Regions from separate parts of the Homo sapiens genome. Here region 1 is linked to region 2. The links are contacts of gene promoters, found by promoter capture Hi-C in human tissues and cell types (Jung and others, 2019). All regions are on one chromosome and are shown on one strand. Each heading gives the region's core, a stretch centred on a gene start or on the middle of the fragment in contact. The rest is flanking DNA. Distances are from core to core; before and after follow the strand shown.

Region 1 (3,586 bases), core at 310-2,809, 330 kb before region 2:
GTCTTAAACTAGAAGAATACGTTTCCCATTATCTCAAGTAGCAGAACATGTTCCATATGCTTCAAAGAAAATTCTAAACCATCACAGCTGTAGATCATGCACTTGATACACTGCTTTCTTTCAACCCCCACATCCTCACCACCTGCTTCTTTGATCACCAATAAATAGTGTGGGCTTCCAGAGCTCGGGGCCTTCACAGCCTCCATACTAGTGTTGGCCCCCTGGTCCCACTTTATGCACTCTTGTCTCATCTGTTTGACTCTGCCGGACTTCATAGTCCCCACAGCCTGGAGTTGGGTCTGATCACCCCAACATTCCTGGCGCCCAATATGAGGCAACGAACACCCCAGTGAAGGAACACTAGAGTGTGTGAAAGAGGATGCATCATCAGAGGACACCCGAGGACGACTGAAAGAAGCTCAGCAGGAAAGCTGAGCACTCGGAAGGACCAGGGTAACAATGGCACAAAGTGAAAGCAAACATTCTGCTCAGGATGTTTTAATACAGCTTCTTACATACAATAATGCTAATGCAGTGTCAAACTGCTATTAGACCCCTGACAGGGAAGGTTCAGTTAGCTGAATGTATTAAGGCTTGCGATGGCATTGGAGGTAACTTACATAAGGCTAATCTTTTAGCTCAGGCTATGGCTGGATTGAAAGTAGGAAAGAATATGCCCCATTTCTTGGGCCATTGTTTCAATTGTGGGCAATTTGGACACAGAAAAAAGGAATGTAGAAAAGGAAATCAAAAGGCAAAAACTACCATCAATCAACAGAAAAGTCCCAGTGTATGCCCCCAGTGTAAGAAAGGCAATCACTGGGCAAATCAGTGTCATTCTAAATTTAGCAAAGATGGACAACCTCTTTCGGGAAATGGGAAGAGGGGCCTGCCTCAGGCCCCTCAACAAACCAAGGCATATCCGGCACAGCCAGTGCCCTTACAAACATACAACAATTGTCTCCCACCATAGTAGGCAGTGCTGCTATAGACCTTTGCAGCACAATTCCCATCTCCTTCCTGGGGAGCCACCAAAGAAGGTCCCCACGGGTGTTAGGGAACCCTTACCCTCAGGAACAGTTGGTCTGTTACTTGGAAGGTCTAGTTTAAATTTAAGAGGTGTCAGTGCATACGGGAATAATTGACTCTGATTATACCGGAGAAATTCAATTAGTTTGCTGGGCGCGGTGGCTCATGCCTGTAATCCTAGCACTTTGGGAGGCTGAGGTGGGCAGATCACGAGGTCAGGAGATCGAGACCATTCTGGCTAACACGGTGAAACCCCGTCTCTACTAAAAATACAAAAAAAAAATTAGCTGGGCATGGTGGCGGGCACCTGTAGTCCCAGCTCTCAGGGAGGCTGAGGCAGGAGAATGGAGTGAACCCAGGAGGTGGAGCTTGCAGTGAGTCAAGATCGTGCCACTGCACTCCAGCCTGGGCAATAGAGCAAGGCTCCATCTCAAAAAAAAAAAAAATTCAATTAGTTATTAGTTCCTCGACTCAGTGGTCTTCTTCCCCAGGAGAAAGAATTGCTTAGTTATTGCTGTTACCTTACACAAAACTAGGAAGCAGCACAGTGAAAAGAACAGGAGGCTTTGGTAGTAATCCAGCAGGAAAGGCTGTATATTGGGTTAATCTAGTGTCTGACAGAAGACCTATTTGTACAGTAACTATTCAGGGAAAGGATTTTGAAGGACTAGTAAATACTGAAGCTGATGTCTCTATTATTGCTTTAAATCAATGGCCCCAACACTGGCCCAAACAAAAGACTTCCATGGGTATCACTGGCATAGGGCCTGCTTCAGAAGTTTTTCAAAGTTCCTTGATTTTACCATGTCACGGGCCAGATGGCCAGGAAGGAACAATTCAACCTATTATTACACCTATTCCTATCAATTTATGAGGTAGAGACTTATTGCAACAATGGAGTGCCCACCAAACATCTGAAGATCTATCATGAGCCACAGCATCTAGTGGACCCACCTGTATGGTGCAAATTTAAGGTTTAAGGATTGCTTTTTTGCTATACTGTTGCACAAGAAGGATAAGCTTCGATTTGCTCTCTGTGCCTTCTGTTAGAAGGGGCCTGCTTCTCATTATCAGTGGAAAGTTTTACCCCATGGTAATTAACCAAAGAGGCAGAAGCTGAGTTACAGCTTGTAGAACAAATGCTTCACCAATGGTATGCCTCCCAGCTACAGCCACAAAAGTTTTTGCTTCTGTTTCGCTAGATTTACTAACGTGGGGTTGAGGGTATGCTTGTGTTTTTGCAGGAGATGAACAAGCCGTGTGGGTGCCCTCAAGATGTGTACGACCATGGAACAGGAGACTGGAGGGACCCAACCATGGAGGGGGTTCCCCCAGTACGAGCCATGGGCCAGTTGAATCTGAATGCGAAGATGGAATGAGGACCGACTGGAGTCACGCTGACATCAACCCCCATAACATGGGGGCAGATCAAGAAAACCACACAGGAAGCTGAGAAACTGCTGCAGCGCCAGGGTTTTACCTTTTGCAGGAACTCAGGGGCACAACAGATGCTTAATGGACCAATGCTTTCTGACTGAGCTCCTCTCTACCCTGAATACAAGAGACCCTAATAGGCAGGAATATCATCGCCCCTGTTCAGCATGAAGAAGTTGCAGAAGATGGACCTTCATCCTTCTGCAGCCCTTAGGATTAAAGGTCCTTTTGTAAAAGGGAAGGGGGAAATATGTAAGAAGCATTCAAACCAGAGCGACTACATTTTGAATAAGGGCTAAGACAAATGAAGCTGGATCACCAACTGGCAATTAAGGGCTGAACAGCCTGCAATTGCCTTGCTCAATTAATTTAAAAACAGAAAGACCTTTTGGATTCAAAGTTGTGTTCGGCCACCTTTTATGCTAGCAATAGGAAATGTTACTCTTAAATGCCATCTGGAGGGCAAAGATGAAAATCTCACCCTTGATATTGTAAAACTAAAAGAGAAGGTTTTTGAAGCCTCTCAGGCTCACTTAGCCCTGCTCCCTGGAACTGATATTTTGAACAAGACAGCCAATGGGTTGTCCACAATCAATCCTCTTAAATGGATTAAGGCCATTGGAAGCTCTATACTTGGCAGATTTTGTTCTAATAATTATGTGTTTGTGCTGTCTCCTTTTAGTCTGCAGATGCGGAAGCCACCTCGGGAGAGACAGCTGCCGTCGAGAACAAGCTATGATAGCTGTGGCGGTTTTACAAAAAAGAAAAGGGGGCATGTTGGGGAAAAGCTGAGTGTTGGGAAAAAAGCTGAGGCAGGACTTGCATGTCTGATATAATGTAAAAGAGTCTTGGAACATGTCTGGGGTCCAGGGTCCAAAACCCCTCATGGCCTTTGGAACACCAAGCTCTGTGCCAAAGGGTGGAAGGCTGCCCTGCTGCACCACAATCTAAGCCCAGGGCACAAAACCCCTCATGGCTTGGATGGAATCCAGGGCTCAGGGCATAAAACCCCTTGCGGCCTCTGGAATGTGTCTAGACTTGCTGGCTCCTTCCTTCTAGCACTCCCAGGCTCATAGAACGATTGTATCTTTTTTTTTTTTTTTTTTTTTTTTTTTTTGAGACA
Region 2 (3,891 bases), core at 588-3,087:
ACTGCTGCAGCAGGCAACTTCATTTTCTTTTTTCTTTTTTTTGAGACAGTTTCGCTTTTGTTGCCCAGACTCCAGGCTGGAGTGCAACGGCGTGATCTCAGCTCACTGCAGCCTCCGCCTCCCAGGTTCAAACGATTCTCCTGCCTCAGCCTCCCGAGTAGCTGGGATTACAGGTATGCACCACCACGCCAGGCTAATTTTTTTTTTTTTTGTATTTAGTAGAGATGGGGTTTCACCATGTTGGTCAGGCTGCTCTCAAACTCCTGACCTCAGGTGATCCACCTGCCTCAGCCTTCCAAAGTGCTGGGATTACAGGCTTGAGACACTGCGCCCGGCCTCATTTTCTTCTTTTGAACAATTTCCTCCTGATTAGGGGTGGGGTTACCGATCAGACATTTTGAACATCTTTCTGACTCTTGACAATTTTGCATGTCACAAGATCTGTTGTCCTTGGCCCTAGCCTCTGCAAAGCCAGACCCTAAGGGCTGGCCCCTCTGACATCTCCCTTCCTCCAGCTTTGCGGTCACCCTTTTCACCTGGGGCCTCTGCCTCAGCCTCCTGCCTCTCCTCTCCACAGCCCACTCCTTCTCCTGCCCACAGGCCTGCGGGCTTCCCCTCCCCAGGCAAGCTGGGGCCGTGTCGCAGCGCTTGGCCATCACGACTTTGCCATTGCCAATGCAATCTGGCTCACTGGCATGCACTGTGCTTACCTTAGCCTCAGGGTGTCCTGCATAGGTCCCCAGGAAGATAAACCCTGGGTGATGTGTCATTTTCCCCTTTCCGTTCCTTCCCACGCCCTTCCCCCCACCTCCCCGCGTAGGCAGCGCATCTAGTTGGCACTCCATAAATATCCAAAGTATTTACAAAATAACGTAGAAGTTCTATGCTGTTTAGTTAGATCTCTTAAGGTTGATAATGTACAAGGCAATTTGCATCAGGAGCAGACGAGATAGGGCCCGGCAGATATAAATTAAAAATGCAATTGCACGCATTCATTCAACGAGAACTCACTGAGCAACTACTATGTGCCAACATTATCCACTGCAGTGAATAAAAGACAAACAAACAAGCAAATAACAAAAAAAAAAACAAAAGAGCAAGAAAGTGGCCGGGTGCAGTGGCTCACCGCTGTAATCCCAGCACTTTGGAAGGTCGAGAAAGGAGGATCGCTTGAGGCCACGAGTTCAAGACCAGACTGGGCAACATCATAGTGAGACCTCGTCTCTACAAAAATTAAAAAATTAGTCGGGGGTGGTGCGCCCAGCTCTACTCGGGAGGCTGAGGTGGGAGGATCGCTTGAGCCCAGGAACTGTAGGCTGCAGTGAGCCAGGATCGCACAACTGCACCACAGCCTGGGCAGCAGAACGAGAAATAAATAAACAAATAAAAGCCAGAAAGTAAAAATAAAGTGTTAGATGGCGATTCGAGCTGAGGAGGAAATCAGGCAGGGGAAAGAATCTGAAAGCGAGGAGTGAGTGGCTGGCAAGGCTCCTTCGGAAGGTGGCAATAACAGTCATAGACCGGTCACATCAATTGGGTGTTTACTGCGGGCCAGTGTGTGCCACCAACCTCACACCCGAAAGCCACAAAGACTCACGCCACAACGCAACGAGGCAGGGGCTCCTCCTCCTCCCTTGGTATACGGAAAGAAGCGTAGGGAGCAGAGTTGGGATGCTAGTCAGTACCCCCCTGCACCTAGCCCTTGCCCCTCCGTCTGGCTTTCCCCACTCCCGCTCCGGCGGAGCTAAGGTTAACATTAGACGAGGCTGTGGCTACCGGAAAGAGCGCAGGCGCAGAGCGCGGAATGCGCCTGCGCAGAGCGCTGGGCGACGTGGCCAGTCGGGGCCCGGAAGTGGTCCCTGTAGAACCACTGTGGCACCGCTACTCCGTGCCGCGCCCGTCGAGCATTGCGTTGCTGCATTGCGCCCCACCGACTCCACTATGTTGAAGAAATTCGACAAGAAGGATGAGGAGTCAGGTGAGGGGGCCAGGCCTGGGTCTGAGGGAGGCCGGACCCCCACCCGCCGAGCTTTCCTTCTGGTTCTCTGTCCTGACCCGGAGGCTGAGGCCCAGTGAGGGGCAGGGGCTTGTGCCAGGGTCCACAGCTAGTCAGTGGCAGGCCTCGGAGAGCCCGAGCATGCGCGGCTGTCTCACTCTTGTAAGCTCGGACTGCAATTTTCTGGGTGACCTTGGGCGCGACAAACACCCCCCCCCCCAGGCCTCAATTTACCCATCTGTCAAAGGAGGGGACCATGCCGAATGTTCTCTTGTTACTTTCTTCGTCCAACCTCTTGGGATTCGCTGGGGCTACGTTGGTGCTGGCCAAACTGGGGTGTAACCTGCGGAGCCAGCGTCCTGTGACTGGGAACTCTGACCCCATCATTCATTTATTCAGCAAAGTATATTGAGCAGTTACTGTATGCCAGGTACTGTACGGTGTCCTGGATACTGCAACAGAGCAAGTGGGACACTCAGTGCCTGAGCTAGGAATATTAGAATGGTTGCACCCACGATGGAGGAGGCAGACATCAACCAGATAATCACACGTGTAATTATTTGCAAATGTGTCATCTGCTATGAAGGAACTAGTTACAACGAGATGGTGGTCCCTGGCACATAGGGACTTAGTTAATTACAAGTTATATAAATGAACACAAGACATGGCACCATGAGAAGCACAGGACTGTACCAGGGCTGCTGGGAGATTGTGAGTGGTTTGGGGTAGAGTGGAGCCCACCTGCTTGCAGGAGACTAGTAGGATCCCTAGACAGATTGTAGAGGCTTGATTGCCATTCCTGAGGAGTTTGAACTTTACTAGATTTCCTAGGAAGGGACATCTTCCCTTTACCTATGTCTGGGAGAGTTTTGAAGTTCAGAGTCACAACCTACCTTCTCCATTGTCCTTGACCGTAGGTGGAGGCTCCAACCCATTCCAGCACCTTGAGAAGAGTGCGGTACTCCAGGAGGCAAGTGACATTTGCTCCCCTCTAGCTTCCATCATAAATATTCACCACCAATGCAACTGAAATACCAACACATTCAAAGTGTTGTTTTAAAGAGCAACACGGGAGAAAACTTGTGCCTGGAAGTTTTCTGGAAGACAGGAAAACTTTGTTTCTGGAGAGAGTTAGTTATGCTTACTTCTTTTTTTTTTTTTTTTTTTTTTTTTTTCTGAGACAGAGTCTTGCTCTGTCGCTCAGGCTGGAGTGCAGTGGCGTGATCTCGGCTCACTGCAAGCTCCGCCTTCCAGGTTCACGCCATTCTCCTGCCTCAGCCTCCCAAGTAGCTGGGACTACAGACGCCCGCCACCACACCCGGCTAATTTTTTGTATTTTTAGTAGAGACGGGGTTTCACCGCGTTAGCCAGGACGGTCTTGATCTCCTGACCTCGTGATCCACCCGCCTCGGCCTCCCAAAGTGCTGGGATTACAGGCTTGAGCCACCGCGCCTGGCCTCTCTATTTAAACATTTAAAAAATTTCTCTATTTAAAGTTAATTCCAAAGCTAAGGAAACTGGTTTAAAACTATCACCTAAGCTAGACTGTGGCCATTATGCAGGTAGAGATTTTGCATGACTTGTTTATTTTTATTATATATATTTTTTATATATATATATATATGTATTTTTTTTTAGAAGGCGTCTCACTCTGTTGCTCAGGCTGGAGTGCAGTGGCACGATCTCGGCTCAACTGCAACCTCTGCCTCCTGGGTTCAAGCAATTTTTCTGTCTCAGCCTCCCAAGTAGCCGGGACTACAGGCGCACGCCACTATGCCTGGCTGATTTTTATATTTTTAGTAGAGATGAGGTTTCACGATGTTGGCCAGGCAGGAGAATGGTGTGAATCCTGACCTCTTGATCCTCCCGCCTCGGCCTCCCAAAGTGCTGGGATT

What was found. Contacts are between HindIII fragments. The study calls those that stand out against the background at their distance.
Region 1: a contact is called between a fragment that was not itself captured here and the fragment with the promoter of COPG1 in region 2, in 2 of the 25 tissues and cell types used here (bladder and mesendoderm cells).

Annotation. Positions count from the first base shown.
Region 1 is chr3:128,920,882-128,924,467 of GRCh38, forward strand. All of the region lies in intron 12 of CFAP92 (cilia and flagella associated protein 92 (putative)), which reads right to left. Among named protein-coding and RNA genes, the nearest start is that of ACAD9, 43 kb to the left of the region's middle. The HindIII fragment of the contact is 6,238 bases long and covers 1-3,586 here.
Region 2 is chr3:129,247,769-129,251,659 of GRCh38, forward strand. COPG1 (coat protein complex I subunit gamma 1) reads left to right here and starts at 1,838. Exons shown (of 24, transcript NM_016128.4): 1 at 1,838-1,978; 2 at 2,914-2,966. The coding sequence starts at 1,942. The HindIII fragment of the contact is 12,995 bases long and covers 1-3,891 here.